Linked DNA regions of Homo sapiens: region 1 is linked to region 2. Evidence: promoter capture Hi-C in 16 types of primary human blood cells and fetal thymus (Javierre and others, 2016). All regions are on one chromosome and are shown on one strand. Each heading gives the region's core, a stretch centred on a gene start or on the middle of the fragment in contact. The rest is flanking DNA. Distances are from core to core; before and after follow the strand shown.

What was found. The method cuts DNA at HindIII sites, captures the fragments that hold promoters and counts their contacts. A CHiCAGO score of 5 or more calls a contact.
Region 1: a contact is called between the fragment with the promoter of MAP1S here and the fragment with the promoter of TMEM221 in region 2, in 2 of 17 cell types (megakaryocytes and endothelial precursors). The highest score is 5.6, in megakaryocytes.

Annotation. Positions count from the first base shown.
Region 1 is chr19:17,715,367-17,722,832 of GRCh38, forward strand. MAP1S (microtubule associated protein 1S) reads left to right here and starts at 4,114. Exons shown (of 7, transcript NM_018174.6): 1 at 4,114-4,254; 2 at 5,570-5,671. The coding sequence starts at 4,137. RefSeq lists enhancers at 2,144-2,645, 4,696-4,765, 5,156-5,305 and a silencer at 4,296-4,345. The HindIII fragment of the contact is 1,227 bases long and covers 3,882-5,108 here.
Region 2 is chr19:17,445,959-17,453,108 of GRCh38, forward strand. TMEM221 (transmembrane protein 221) reads right to left here and starts at 2,710. Exons shown (of 3, transcript NM_001190844.2): 1 at 2,185-2,710. The coding sequence starts at 2,504. RefSeq lists a silencer at 2,724-2,843. The HindIII fragment of the contact is 12,702 bases long and covers 417-7,150 here.

The DNA of each region.
Region 1 (7,466 bases), core at 2,864-5,363, 270 kb after region 2:
AATACGGCAAAATCCCATCTCTACAAAACATACAAAAATTAGCCAGCAGAGGTGGCCTGCACCTGTTGTCCCAGCTAGTCAGGAGGCTGAGGTGGGAGGACTGCTTGAGCCCTGGAGGCAGAGGTTGTAGTGAGCTGAGATTGTGCCACTGCACTCCAGCCTGGGTAACCTGACCCTGTAATCCCAGCACTTTGGGAGGTCAAGGTGGATCTCTTAAGCCTAGGAGTTTGAGAGCATCCTGGGCAACAAGGAGATGCCATCTCTACAAAATATACAAAACATTAGCCAGGCATGGCGGCGCACACCCGTAGTCCCAGATACTTGGGAGGCTGAGGTGGGAGGATCTCTTGAGCCCTGAAGGTCAAGGTTGCAGTGAGCTGAGATCAAGCCAGTGCACCTCAGCCTGGGTGATAGAATGAGACCCTGTCTTAAAAAAAAAAAAAAAAAAAAAGGCCGGGCACGGTGGCTCATGCCTGTAATCCCAGCACTTTGGGAGGCCAAGGCTGGCCTGACACCGGGAGTTCAAGACCAGCCTGGCCAACATGGTGAAATCCCGTCTCTACTAAAAACACAAAACTTCCTGGGCATGGTGGCAGGTGCCTGTAATCTCAGCTACTTGGGAGGTTGGAGCAGGATAATCACTTGAACCTGGGAGGCAGAGGTTGTAGTGAGTCGAGATCACACCACTGTAGATAGAGAGAGAGAGAGAGAGAGAGAGACTCATTCTGTCAAGCAGGCTGGGTTGGAGTGCAGTGGCGTGATCTCAGCTCGCTGCAATCTCCACAGCCCAGACTCAAGTGATCCTCCCACCTCAGCCTCCTGAATAGCCCACAACCACACCTGGCTAATTTTTGTATTTTTAGTAGAGACGGAGTTTCACCATGTTGGCCGGGCTGGTCTCAAACTCCTGACCTCAAGTGATCCGCCTGTCTCAGCCTCCCAAAATATTGGGATTACAGGTGTGAGCTACTACACCCAGCCTGACCATGTCTATATTAAACCTCAACAAAACTGTTAAAATAAGAAAATAATTGCCAGGAGAAGATGAGAATATCCAGCAGTCCTGAGGGCTCAGGGTTCCGTTTTCCCCACAAATGCCATCATCTGACGCCTCTGGGGATGGTGACCTTGAAACAGTCATGGAGCTGGGCCAGAAACCAGAGACCAGAGTCCCATGCCTGGGATTTGAGCAGTGGTCTCAGAGGCTTCTCAGTTTCTAGGGAAATGCACCCCACATGTCCCACACCAGAGTCCTCAAGCTTGGGAAATGCTTTGGGACAGGAAGACCTCATGGCTCCAAGTACTCAGGACATTATCTCCCAAAAACCTAATGGGGGAGACCTTCATCCCCAAATCAGATCCCCCTAGTGGAGACATTTCTTCAGGCCCTGTAAGACCAACTAGTAATAGAATTAATACCAACAGGCCGGTGCAGTGGCCCATACCTATAATCTCAGCACTTTGGGAGGCCAAGTGGGGCAGATTACTTGAAGTCAGGAGTTCGAGACCATCCTGGCCAACATGGTGAAACCCCATGTCTCTACTAAAAATACAAAAATTAGCCAGGCATGGTGGTGGGTACCGTAATCCCAGCTACTCAGGAGGCTGAGGCAGGAGAATCCCTTGAACCCGGGAGGCGGAGCTTGCAGTGAGCCGAGGTTACACCACTGTGCTCCAACCTAGCCTGCTTGACAGAACAAGACTCTCTCTCTCTCTCTCAGAATGATTCTGGCAAGGGCGACAGAGTGAGAATCCGTCTCAAAAAAAAAAAAAAGAAAGAAAAAAAAGAATTAGTACCAACAATCATAATTCACAGCGTGGGCAGAAGGAAGTGGATAGACTTCCATTCAGAAGCTCCTGGGTTCGAATCCTGGACCCATCCATAAATACACAAGGAAGGAAGGAAGGAAGGAATAGTGGACAAATAGGCCTTTCAGCCCATTCCAAAAGACTTTATCATATCCCTTCTCAGATGCCCAAGCCTTGTGTTGCACAAGGCCAGGGCCCCAGAGAGGCCTCAGGCTTCCAAAAGTTTCCAGCCTTATAGGGGAGATAGTGCCCGACACAGACACTCCCACTACTATTACTGCTCACAGCAATAACAGAAGAAATCACAGGCAGGCGAGACACAGGGAAGGGAGCCAAGGGGGAGGGACAAGGATAGAGGAAGGATGCCAGAACCAAAAAGAGAGAGAGGAAGTGGAGTGCAAGAATGGTAGACGGCACGTGGCCAGTGGCTGTTACACACTGGCCAGGGAGGAAGTTGGGCTGAACAACCTAGATAATAAACGGCAGCGGGAGGCTGATTCGCCTTCCCAGATCTTTCCCATTTCTGTTCTGCTTTTCTTTGCATACTCCCGGAGACAGGGAGCTCACTCCTGAGAAAGGAGGTTCAATGTTTCCTGGGCATGGACCACTGTCCAGAAGTTCCAAGCAAGATGATTTGTCAAGTAGTAGCCCCTATGGGTCAAAGGGCTAAAGGGGGCCAGGCGCGGCGGCTCACGCCTGTAATCCCAGCACTTTGGGAGGCCAAGGCAGGAGGATCACTTGAGGTCAGGAGTTCGAGACCAGCCTGGCCAACATGGTGAAACCCCATCTCTGCCGGGCACGGTGGCTCACGCCTGTAATCCCAGCACTTTGGGAGGCCGAGGCAGGCAGATCACGAGGTCAGGAGATCGAGACCACGGTGAAACCCCGTCTCTACTGAAAATACAAAAAATTAGCTGGGCACAGTGGCGGGCGCCTGTAGTCCCAGCTACTCGGGAGGCTGAGGCAGGAGAATGGCATGAACCTGGGAGGTGGAGCTTGCAGTGAGCCGAGATCGCGCCACTACCCTTCAGCCTGGGCGACAGAGCGAGACTCTGTCTCTAAAAGAAAAGAAAAGAAAAGAAAAGAAAAGAAAAGAAAAGAAAAGAAAAGAAAAGAAACCTCATCTCTACTAAAATACAAAAATTAGCAGGGCATGGTGGCGGACACCTATAATCCCGCTACTTGGGAGGCTGAGGCAAGGGAATCGCTTGAACCCGGGAGGCAGAGGTTGCAGTGAGCTGAGATTGTGCCATTGCACTCCAGCCTGGGCGGCAGAATGAGACTCCATCTCAAGAAAAGGAAAGGAGAGGAGAGGAGAGGGGAGAGGAGGGGAGGGGAGGGGAGGGAGAGGAAGGGAGGGGAGGGGAGGAGAGGAGAGGAGAGGGGAGAGAAGGGGAGGGGAGGGGAGAAGAGGAGAGGAGGGGAGGGGAGGAGAGGAGAAGAGAGGGGAGGAAAGGAAAGAAAAGCCTAAAGAGGATTATCTGGGGAGAGAGAGGTACCCATGTGCGCAACGCAGGCAGTCCCTTGCACAGGCTGGATCTAGAGTAAGACCCACTTGGGTTCAAACCTGCTCTACCACTTACAGGCCTGGTGACTTCATCCCTCCAAATCTCAGTTTCCTCTTCTTTCCTCTGAAAGTGACCACAGTAACTGTGCCTACTCATCTGTGCCTACATACAAGCACAAAACTCATCGCTTTGTGCTTGTATGTAATGAGCTAATGCAATAAAATACCTGGCGCACAGGAGGTGCAGAATAAGTGTTGCCCTGTTCCAGGCAGGCCCAGAGTGCTCCGGTTGTGTCCCAAACACACATGTACTTTCTTACCTCTAAAACTTTGCACCTGCTGTAAACTTCTGCCTCACCAGCTCTTGCCCCACCACCCACAAGGCAAACTCCTACACATCCCTTAAAGCCCTACCTACAAGATAGATTTCTTTTCTCTGTTCAAGCCCTGACCTAGAGAGCTGGGAGCATCCATAGGCACCGGGTTCTGATGCGGCCTACTGTCATGTGATGTGAGTTCCTGGAGGGCAGGAGTTCTGACCTACATGCAGCAGGCACGCAATCAAAGCTTGTTCAATGAAAAAAAAAATGAATGAATGGTCACTTGGGAGAGGCGGCTCCCAAGCGGACACCCAGGAGTCGGCCAACCCCTTTAACGCCCGCATCCCCTGCTCTCCACGACCTCAAAGGGCCTGTAAGTGGTCGACAAAAAGGGGCGGGGATGCGGTGGTTCCGGGCGGGGTCTTCAGCCCTTCCGGTGCGGCCCCTTTAAGAGGCGGGGCCTGCGGGGCGGGCGCCGAGAACGCCGGGGCGGCCCGAAGATGGCGGCGGTGGCTGGATCTGGGGCTGCCGCGGCTCCGAGCTCACTGCTCCTCGTGGTGGGCAGCGAGTTCGGGAGCCCGGGGCTCCTCACCTACGTCCTGGAGGAGCTCGAAAGAGGTCGGGCTGGCCTGGGGGCCCGCGGGAGCCCGGGAGGCGGGCCCGTTCGCGCGTCTGGGCCCGGGGCCGGCGGGGTGGGGCGGCGGCGGCGGCGGCGGCGGGACCCGGGCTCCGGGGCGGGGGTCGCGGGCCTGGGGCTGGGTCCCCTTCACCGTTAGGCGCACGACGCGGGCAAAGGCGGGGTGCCCGTGGGTGCCCGCGGAGAAAGTGGCATCCGGGCCTGGGCTGGGCAGGGCTGCCCCGCCCCAACTCCGGGTGAAGATAGGGGAGGGGACACGGGCCTGGGCTTGGGGACCCTTGCAGTTGGACCACGGCTCCGCTTCCCGCCTGACTGGCCTGCCCGGGGGTAGGGCCTGGGGTCGCTTTGGATCTCCAGGTCTTAGCAGCTTAGATAGAGATCTCCCGGAGGGAGAAGCAGATATGGGGGAGGCTGGGCCTGGAGCCCCGGGGCCCGCTTTCTGTTGCCTCACAAGGAGCTGCTAATTGGGGTGTGGGCGGGTGCGGCCTGCCCTGGGGATTTGGCACCTAGGGAGGTGAGTCATAGGCGCACCTGCCAGGTTCACCTGCAGCCACTTGGCTCAGTGGGACTGGCGGGCGTGATGCGCCCGTGGGTGGAGATGGGTGTTCATCCCCCATCCCTCGGAGCATCTGGACCTGGCGTTTCATTGCATGTAAAATGGGACAGGAACACGCACCTCGGTTCATGTGCTTGAGGAGTGTTTAGTGAGCACCTGCTATGCGCCAGGCCTTTGGGCAGTGGACACAGGGATATGGCCGGGATGATAGACAGGTTCAGCCCTGCCAACACAGGTCTGGTTTGGGGATGGACCCAAAGCGAGTGAGGAGATGGAACAAGCTTCCAGCTCACATGGTGTCAGGAAGGATGAGAAGGCTGCAAGGGACTGAGAGGACAGTCAGTCTTAGCACCCGAAGGTGCTGAGGGGGAAGGGCCCCCTGGCCAGTAGGAACAGGTGGGGGCGGCAGGGGGATGGACTTCCAGGCAGGGGAAACAGCTGTTGCAAGGGCGGTGAGTGGAAACGGGTCTGGCAGGGCATAGGAGCAGCGAGGAGGTGGAGATGGAGGAGGTGGAGGCTTTGTTGCTGATGAATCTTGTGTGTAAAATGATGAGGTGTGCTCTGGGTCCCCTGGCTCAGCTGCAGCGAGACCTGAAGGTGTTGGGTACTTCTGAGTCTCCAAGCTGTGAGTGAAGGGAGGAGGCTGGGGCGCTCCCCACCCACGGGGTGCTAATTATTGAAATATTCTGGGAGCTGGGGGGCCCGGCTGAACTCCCGCCTTGATCCCTCCTTCCCACCAGGCATCCGGTCTTGGGATGTCGATCCTGGCGTCTGCAACCTTGATGAACAGCTCAAGGTCTTTGTGTCCCGACACTCTGCCACCTTCTCCAGCATTGTGAAAGGTGAGGCTGGGGTCCCCCTGACTGCTCCCTACCTCTTGTTATTTGGGGAAGTGCCAGCCGTGTGCCAGGCATGGGGGGTGGGATGCAGCTATAAATAACAACAGTAATAATACAGTTGAGACCTTTCAAATGCAAGCCGTGACCCAGTGATAACCCCCTCAGTCCTCAGCAACCCACAGTGCAGGAACTGGTGTTTTTGTCCCTGATTGACAGATGAGGAAATTGGCATTGAAGGGGGAAGAGGCAGGGAGATCTCTGAGGAGGGGGTTTTTTGATGAGAAACTGCTATGACTGGTGTGTCCAGTGGAAGGGAAGGGCCCCAGTCAAGACCCAGCAGTGGACAGAACATCTAGAATGAACCGGGCGCGGTGGCTTACGCCTCTGATCTCAGCACTTTGGGAGGCCGCAGCGGGCGGATCACTTGAGGTCAGGAGTTGGAGACTAGCCTGGCCAACGTGGAGGAACCCTGTCTCTACTAAGAATACAAAAATAACGGCATGGTGGCAGGCGCCTCTAATCCCAGCTACTCGGGAGGCTGAGGTGGGAGGATCACATGAACCCAGGAGGCAGAGGTTACAGTGGGGCTGAGACTGCGCCACTGCACTCCTGCCTGAGTGACAGAGTGGGAGGGACTCTGTCTCAGAACAAACAAACAAACAAAAAACATCTGGAAGGTGGAGGGGCACTGAGCAGGCCCTGGAAGATGGAGTGTGGGCCCCTTGCAGGAAGGGACTGATACTGGTTCACAGCCACAGGCCTGGGTATACAGTAGGCAGGGAACTGAAAAGGAGTGAGATCAAGAAGGGCCCAACTCAGCACGAGGCTCCCTTCTAGGGTGACCCAGGGTGAGCAGAGCAGCAGGCGGGCAGGCAGGGCTTGGGTGTTGCCTGCAGCCGCCCCCGGCTCCTGATGGTCTCTTGAGTCACCTCCCGGCTGCTGCTGGAGAGGAAGGAAGTGTCTGTAGTCTCATTGTCCCAGTTGGTCCTTGTGGCTTCCTGACACTTCATGGGGCAGAAAGTGGAGCTGGAAATCCTGTCTGCTGTGTGTGAACTTCGTGGCCACTTCCCTTCTTTATGCCTTGATTTCCCCACCTGAATGGGGCAATATCCCTGTGTGGCAAAAAGCGTGCTAAGGCTGGGTGGGGTGGCTCTCGCCTGTAATCCCAACACTTTGGGAGGTCAAAGTGGGAGGATTTTTTGAGGTCAGGAGTTCAAAACCAGCTGGGGCAACATGGTGAAACCCTGTCCCTACTGAAAATGCAAAAATGAGCTGGACCTGGTGGTGCACACCTGTAGTCCCAGCTACTCAGGAGCCCGAGGAGGGAGGATCGCTTTTACCCAGGAGGCAGAGGCTGCAGTGAGCTAAGATTGTGCCACTGCACTTCAGCCTGGGCAACAGAGCGAGACCCTGTCTCAAAAAAATAAACTTAGGCCTGACATGGTGGCTCACACCTATAATCCCAGCACTTTGGAAGGCTGAGGTGGGTGGATCACCTGAGGTCAGGAGTTCGAGACCAGCCTGACCAGTATGGTGACACCCCATCTCTACTAAAAATACAAAAATTAGCTGGTTGTGGTGGCAAGCGCCTATAACCCCAGCTACTTGGGAGACTGAGGTTGGAGAATTGCTTGAACTCAGGAGGCAGAGGTTGCAGTGAGCTGAGATCGTGCCACTACACTTCAGCCTGGGCAATAGAGGGAGATTCCATCTCAAAAAAGAGAGAGAGAGAGAGGGAGGGAGGGAGGGAGGGGGAGAGGGAGGGAGAGAGAGAGAGAAAGGAAAGAGAAAGCTAAAT
Region 2 (7,150 bases), core at 1,460-3,959:
CCATCCATCCACACATCCATTTTTCCAAGTCAGTGTCCACCATCCATTTACCATTCATATTCATTGATTATTTGACCAGCACTCATATACAGCCTTCCATCCATTTAACCATGTGCTATTCATCCATCCATCCATTCATTTAAACACCCTCTGCTATCCTATCTATCCATCCCTCACCCACCCATCCACTGGTCATCCATCTTCCATTCACTATCCATCCACCCCTCATCCATCCATCCATCCATCTATCCATCCATCCATTCATCCTTCCTTACTTCGATCCATCCACCATCCATTCTCTTTCCCCTATAACCCATCTATATGCATGAGTCCACTCAAACACTCAACACTCAGGATGCAGCTACTATGTGCAGATACTTGCTACACACCTGGCTTCCATTATTTTACAGACTACAAGCTTCTTTGAGAGATGAGGAAACTGAGTTTCACATGCTGTTATTGATGATACAAACCGCGACCCCAAGAGGTGAGACTGATTGAGGAGGAAGTGGAGGCTATAAGAGCTTCCATCCTCACTCAGCTCCCACCAGTATAATGAAAGTGGACGCCTTCCCCATCTTCCTGTCGCCTTCCCTCCTGTCCCCTTTTCAGCACAGTGGCTAGAGGTGGTCATTCAAAACCTAAATCAGATCACCTTCCTCCTTACTCACAACCCTCCTTAGCAGAAGAAATCCCAAAGTCCTATCTCCTCTCTATCCCATCTCTCTGTTTCCTTTCCTTCTCAGCACTCATTACCATCTGCTATTATTATTATTATTAGAGATGAGGTCTCACTATGTTGCCCAAACTAGAGTGCAGTGGTTATTCATAAGCATGATCATGGCTCACTGCAGCCTTGACCTCCTGGGCTCAAGGGATCCTCTTGCCTCAGCCTCTTAAGTGTATGGGACTACAGGCATGCACCACCACACCTAGCTAATTATTATTTTTTCTTTTTGTAGAGGCAAGGTCTTGCTATATTACCCAGGCTGGTCTCAAATTCCTGGCCTCCCAGCACTTTGGGAGGCCAAGGTGGGTGGGTCATTTGAGGTCAGGAGTTCAAGACCAGCCTGGCCAACATGGTGAAACCCCGCCTCTACTAAAAATACAAAAATTAGCTGGGTATGGTGGTGGGCACCTGTAATCCCAGCTACTCGGGAGGCTAAGGTGGGAGAATCGCTTGAACCCAAGAGGTGGAGGCTGCAGTGAACCGAGATAGCGCCACTGCACTCCAGCCTGGGTGACAGAGCAAGACTCTGTCTCAAAAAAAAAAAAAGAAAAAAAAATTCCTGGCCTCAAATGATCCTCCTGCCTCTGCCTCCCAAAGGGCTGGGATTGCAGGTGTGAACCACCATGCCTTGTCCTTGTTATGTTTCCTTATTTTCTGTGACCCCATGAGAGCAGGTCTGGGTCCACTTGGTCCCCGCTGTCTCTGATGCCCTGAGCCAGATCCATTCCCCTGCAGGCAGGCACCCAACAGATGTTTGCTGACCCGTGGGACCCATGCATTTCATTGTCCCTTGGGTGGAAGGTGCATGGTCTGGATAGGATCTACCTCAATGGTGGGAGTTCTCATCTGCTCAATTTCACAGAATTCTGGACTAGAATTTGGGCTCCTCTCCCCCGACATTCTGGAGAGAAACACTACCATGTGGGACAGCGGAGTCCTCAGCTCAAGGAGGGTTCCTCCTTCCACAACCACTGCCCCTGATAGGGGTCCCTCAATGACCACATCCCTGACTGAGTTCAGGTCCCTGAGGAAGGAACTCAATTTCAGACCAGGACACAGGCTCTGGCTGGCTCTACCCAGAACCAAGTTCAAGTCCAGCACTGTCCCGCCTCCCACCCACTTCCAAGCCAGACAGCCTGAGAGCTCAGCCTCCCCTGTTTGAGATCCAGGCAAGCTGATCCTGGACCCTCTTTGAGCCTCAGTTTCCTCATCTGCAAAATGCGAGACACAGCAGTGGTTGCACCTGCTGCAAAATTGAACAAATATAGAATGGAGGGAGGGAAGGAGGGAGGAGGAGAGGAAAGGAGGGAGGCAGAGAGACATGGAGTGGTGGGGAGAGGGAAGTGGGGAGGGAAGCTGTCCCCCCAGCCTGAGGCCAAAAGAGGGGAAGAGGCTCAACCAGGCTCACCCAGCCCCCAGCCGGGCCTCCGAGGCGGTGAGGCCAGTCCTCCTACCTCCTGGGGCCAGGCCCCCGCGCCAGCTCGGCGCCCAGGTGGCCACAGAGCGCGGCGAGCAGCAAGCAGGTGAACCCCAGCACGAGCACCAGCGCGGCCAGCGCGGCGGCCAGCGGCAGCAGCGTCCCGGCCGCGTCCTCTGGCAGCCCGGGGCCGGCGCCCAGCTCCTGGCCCAGCCCCTCGGCGCGCAGCCCCCGCAGCTCGGCGCGGCCCGCCTGCAGCTGAAACAGCAGCTGCGCGCCCAGCGCCGCCAGCACGGCCGCCGCGATGCCCAGCAGGGTCATTGCAGCCAGCACCCGGCCGCCGTAAGAACGGGCCATGGCGGGGGTTCCTGCGGGCCGGGGGAAGAGTTGAGGAATTGAAGTGGTTTTAGAGGGCAGGGGAGTTGGGGGGAATCCGAGGGTCCTCAGGGGGTCCCCGAGGGGGCGGGGCCGCAGGGAGTGTCTGAAAGTTCGGGGACTGGGCTGGGGGTCGCCAGACGGACGGGGGCTCCGGGGTGCTGGTCGCAGCCGGGACGCCGAATCTCCGCGAAAACTTGGGACAAAGTCTTTTCTCCTCCCTCCCGGGGCCCCGCGGGCGCCCCCTCTTGGTCCGCTGGGCCTGGCGGGGCGGGGCCTGGCACCGGGCGCAGGGCGGGGAGGCCCCACTAGGGACTGGATCGCGGGAACCCCACAGCTCGCTAAGTTCAGAAAAGGGCACCACCCCGCCCCCTGCCGCCCTAAGCATCGATTGTATTGTGGTTTAAAACAAGAAAAAGGAGGCCGGGGGCGGTGGCTCTCGCCTGTAATCCCAGCACCTTGGGAGGCCGAGGCGGGCGGATCACAAGGTCAAGAGTTCCAGACCAGCCTGGCCAATATGGTGAAACCCCGTCTCTACTAAAAATACAAAAATTAGCCGGGCGTGGTGGCCGGAGCCTGTAATCCCAGCTACTCGGGAGGCTGATGCAGGAGAATTGCTTGAACCCAGGAGGCGGAGGTTTCAGTGAGCTGAGATTACGCCATTGCACTGCAGCCTGGGCGACAGAGCGAGACTCCGTCTCAAAATTAATTAATTAATTAATTAAAAAATAAAAAATAAAGAGAAAGGAGGCCGGGCGCGGTGGCTCTCGCTTGTAATCTCAGCACTTTAGGAGTCCGAGGTGGGCGGATCACTTGAGGTCAGGAGTTCAAGACCAGCCTGGCCAACATGGTGAAACCCCCGTCTCTACTAAAAAAAAAAAAAAAAAAAAAAATTAGCCCGGCGTAGTGGTGCATGGCCTGTAATCCTAGCTACTCGGGAGGCTGAGGTTGGAGGAATGCTTGAATCAGGGAGGCGGAGGTTGCAGTGAGCCGAGATTGCACCACTGCACACTCCAGCCTGGCTGACAGAGTAAGACTCCATCAAAAAAAAAAAAAAAAAAAAAGAGAGAGAGAGAGAAAGGGCTGGGTGAGGTGGTTCACAACTGTAATCCCAGCACTTTGGGAGGCTGAGGCAGGAGGATGGCTTAAGCCCAGGAGTTTGAGACCAGCCTGGGCAACATAGCCAGACCCCATCTCTACAAAAAATAAGGAAGTCAGCCTGGTGTGGTGGTGCACGCCTGTGGACCCAGCTACTTTCGGGACTGAGACAGGAGGATCGCTTGAGCCCAGGAGGTCGAGGCTGCAGTGAACTGAGATCACGCCACTGCACTCCAGCCTGAGTGACAGAGCGAGGCTGTGTCTCAAAAAAGAAATAACAAAATTTAAAAATTCACTTTTCATTTGATCTCAACCCAGGGACTCTGTCATTGGCTGTGATTTCCCCTCTGCTTACTTCCTTCAAGCCTTTGGGTAACCGTTGCTTCCTCTAGGAGGCTAGGGAGAATCCTGGATCCCTTCCCCAACTGGTCCCCCAAATTATTCGCACAGCACTTTAAAAAAATCGAGATGAAACTTACATAACATAAAATTAATCATTTTATTCAGTGGCATTTAGTGTTGTACAATCATTACCTCTGTCTAGCTCCAGAAGATTTTCATCCCCCCAAAAGGAGACCCCATCCCCATTACCAGCCACTCCCCATTCCCCCTCCTCAAGTGGCTCACAACCATTAATCTACTTCTTGTCTCTGTCGATTTGCCTGTTCTGGACACTTCATATCAATGGAGTCATACAAGAGGTGGCATTCTGGCTTCTCTCACTCTGCATGATGTACTCAAGGTTCATCGAGGTTGTAGCATGGATCAGTGCCTCATTCCTTTTTATGGCTGCGTAATATTCCATAGCGTGTCTGGAACACATTGTGTTCATCCGTTCATCCATTGATGGGTATTTGTGTTGTTGGTTCCTTTTGGTGAAGGTGACTAATGCTGCTATAAACATGTGTGCACAGGTATCTTCTTGAGTCACTGCTGTCAATTCTTGTGGGGCGTGGACTCCTAGGAGTGGAGTTGCTGAGTCACATAGTTACTCTATTTTAACTCTTTGTGGAACCCTCAAACTTTTCCACAGCAGCTGCACCGTTTTCCATTTCCACCAGCAATGTCTGAGGTTTTTAAAAATAATTTTCTGCACATCCTCCCCAACACGTGTTTCCTCCTGCCCTCCTCCTCCTCCTCTTCCTTCTCCTCCTCCTCCTCCCTTCCTTCTCCTCCTCCTCCTTTCTTCCTCCTCCTCGTCTCCTCCTCCTCCTTCTTCTTTTTTTTTTTATCAGGGCCTTGCTCTGTCACCCAGGCTGGATTGCAGTGGTGTGATCATAGCTCATTACAGCCTTGACCTCCTGCTCAAGTGATCTTTCTGCCTCAGCCTCTCCCCAAGTAGCTGGGACCACAGGCAAGCATCAGCATGCCTGGCTAATTTTTAAGTTTTTTTTTTTTTTTCATAGAGATGGGGTCTTGTTATGTTGGTCTGGTCTCAAACTCTTTATACCCAAGTGATTCTCTCACCTCAGTCCCCCTAAATGCTGGGATTACAGGAGTGAGCCACCACACCCAGCCTCCTCCTTCCTCATAATAGCCTTTTTTTTTTTTTTTTTTTTTGAGATGAACTCTCACTCTGTTGCCCAGACTGGAGTGCAGTGGTGAGATCTCGGCTCACTGCAACCTCCACCTCCCGGGTTCAAGCGATTCTTGCACCTCAGCTTCCCAAGTAGCAGGATTACAGGTGCCTACCACCACACTCAGCTAATTTTTGTATTTTTAGTAGAAACAGGGTTTCACCATGTTGGCCAGGCTGGTCTCAAACTCCTGCCTCAAGTGATCCTCCCACCTCGGCCTCCCAGAGTGTTGGAATTACAGGTGTGAGCCACCATACCCAGCCAGTTTTTAAAATTTTTTTGTAGAGATGGGGTCTTGCTATGTTGGTCTTGTCTCAAACTTCTTATGCCCAAGTGATCCTCTCACCTCAGCCTCCTGAAGTGCTGGGGGATTACAGAGTGAGCCACCACACCCAGCCTCCTCCTCCCTGATAATAGTCATTCTGATGCTTATAAAGTAATATCTCATTGTGGTTTTTATTTGCATTTCCCTAATAACTAATGATGTTAAGCATCTTTTCATGGGCTTTTTGGCTGTTCATATATCTTCTTTGGAGAAATGTCTATTCAAATCCTTTCTCTATTTTAAATTAATTAATTAATTTTTTTGTAGCGATGGGGTCTTACTATGTTGTCCAGGCTCATCTGGAACTCTTAAGCTCAACTGATCCACCCACTGGGCCTCCCAAAGTGCTGGGATTACAGGCATGAGCCACTGCGCCTGGACTGGAATCAAGTTTTTTTTTCAGGTTTGAAAATTTTGGGGCCCCTTGAAAAGAGTTTGTGGGCCCTGTGCCCTCAGCCTCGTAGGTAAAATGGCCCCAAGGAAGAGTATGGGGTGAGGGTGACCCTTCACTTCCAGGTGGCCTCCTTCTTTGCTGTGTGACTTTGGGCACATCCCTTAACCTCTCTGGGCCTCTTCATATGTAGCAAGAACCTGTTCCTTCTTTCAATTGATTGATCGATTGATTGATTCATTCACTCATTCATCAGGCCTCAGCCCAACACTCATTCTTTCATCATCATCAGTGTTAGGGTGAATTTTCCATGTTTTCCAGGTAAGGAAAAGTCTCACGTTGAGGGCTCAGCAATTCATTTGGATCAGGGCTACAGTTTGCTCTGGGTGGTGGGAATACAGAGATACAAGATATTTTCATGTATTCATTCGACGAACATCAGTGGAGAGCCCATCTACGTGCTGGGCTCTGAGGACCCAGGGGTGACCAAGACAGGCCCAGCTCTCCCTTCTGGTGCTCACAGCCTGGTGGGGGAGGTGGAAACATACATGAAACCCCACAATAAGGGGACACTTACCTAAATGGCCAACATTCATTGCAGTGCTGGCTTAGGTTTTGCCATTATTTGTTGGGGTTGGGGGAACACAGATACCAAGGTCTGGTCCTGCTGTTTGTATGTGGGGTGATTCTCTAGTTTGGGGGTGTCTGGCTTCAACTTGGAAAGTTAACCCTGCAAGCAGGCCCCACACTGCTCTTGGTAGATGGTGAGCTCATCTACCTTGGCCTTTTGCTAAGCTGCCCTTCTCATTCCAGCTCAGACAGGTGGGGAGTGGGGAGGTGGGGATGGGGGGTGAGGCTTGGAGAGTTCCACCATACAGTCCAAGGCACACAGCCTGACAGGGACAGAGAGTGGACTCCCTCAACCTCACTGCCCAGATACGGATGGCTGGTCACTGCATGTTGGCTGGAATAATAGTAACAATGTTGACAGGTTACATCGCCTGTGATTTGTTGGAAAAGGGCAACCTGGTATGATTTACAGATAATTTAAGTGATTTTTATTTTTTTGAGACAGAGTCTCCCTGTGTCGCCCAGGCTGGAGTGCAGGGGTGCAATCTTGGCAGACTGCAACCTCCGCCTCCCAGGTTCAAGTGATTCTCATGCCTCAGCCTCCTGAGTAGCTGGGACTACAGGTGCGTGCCACCACGCCAGCTAATTTATATATATATATATATAT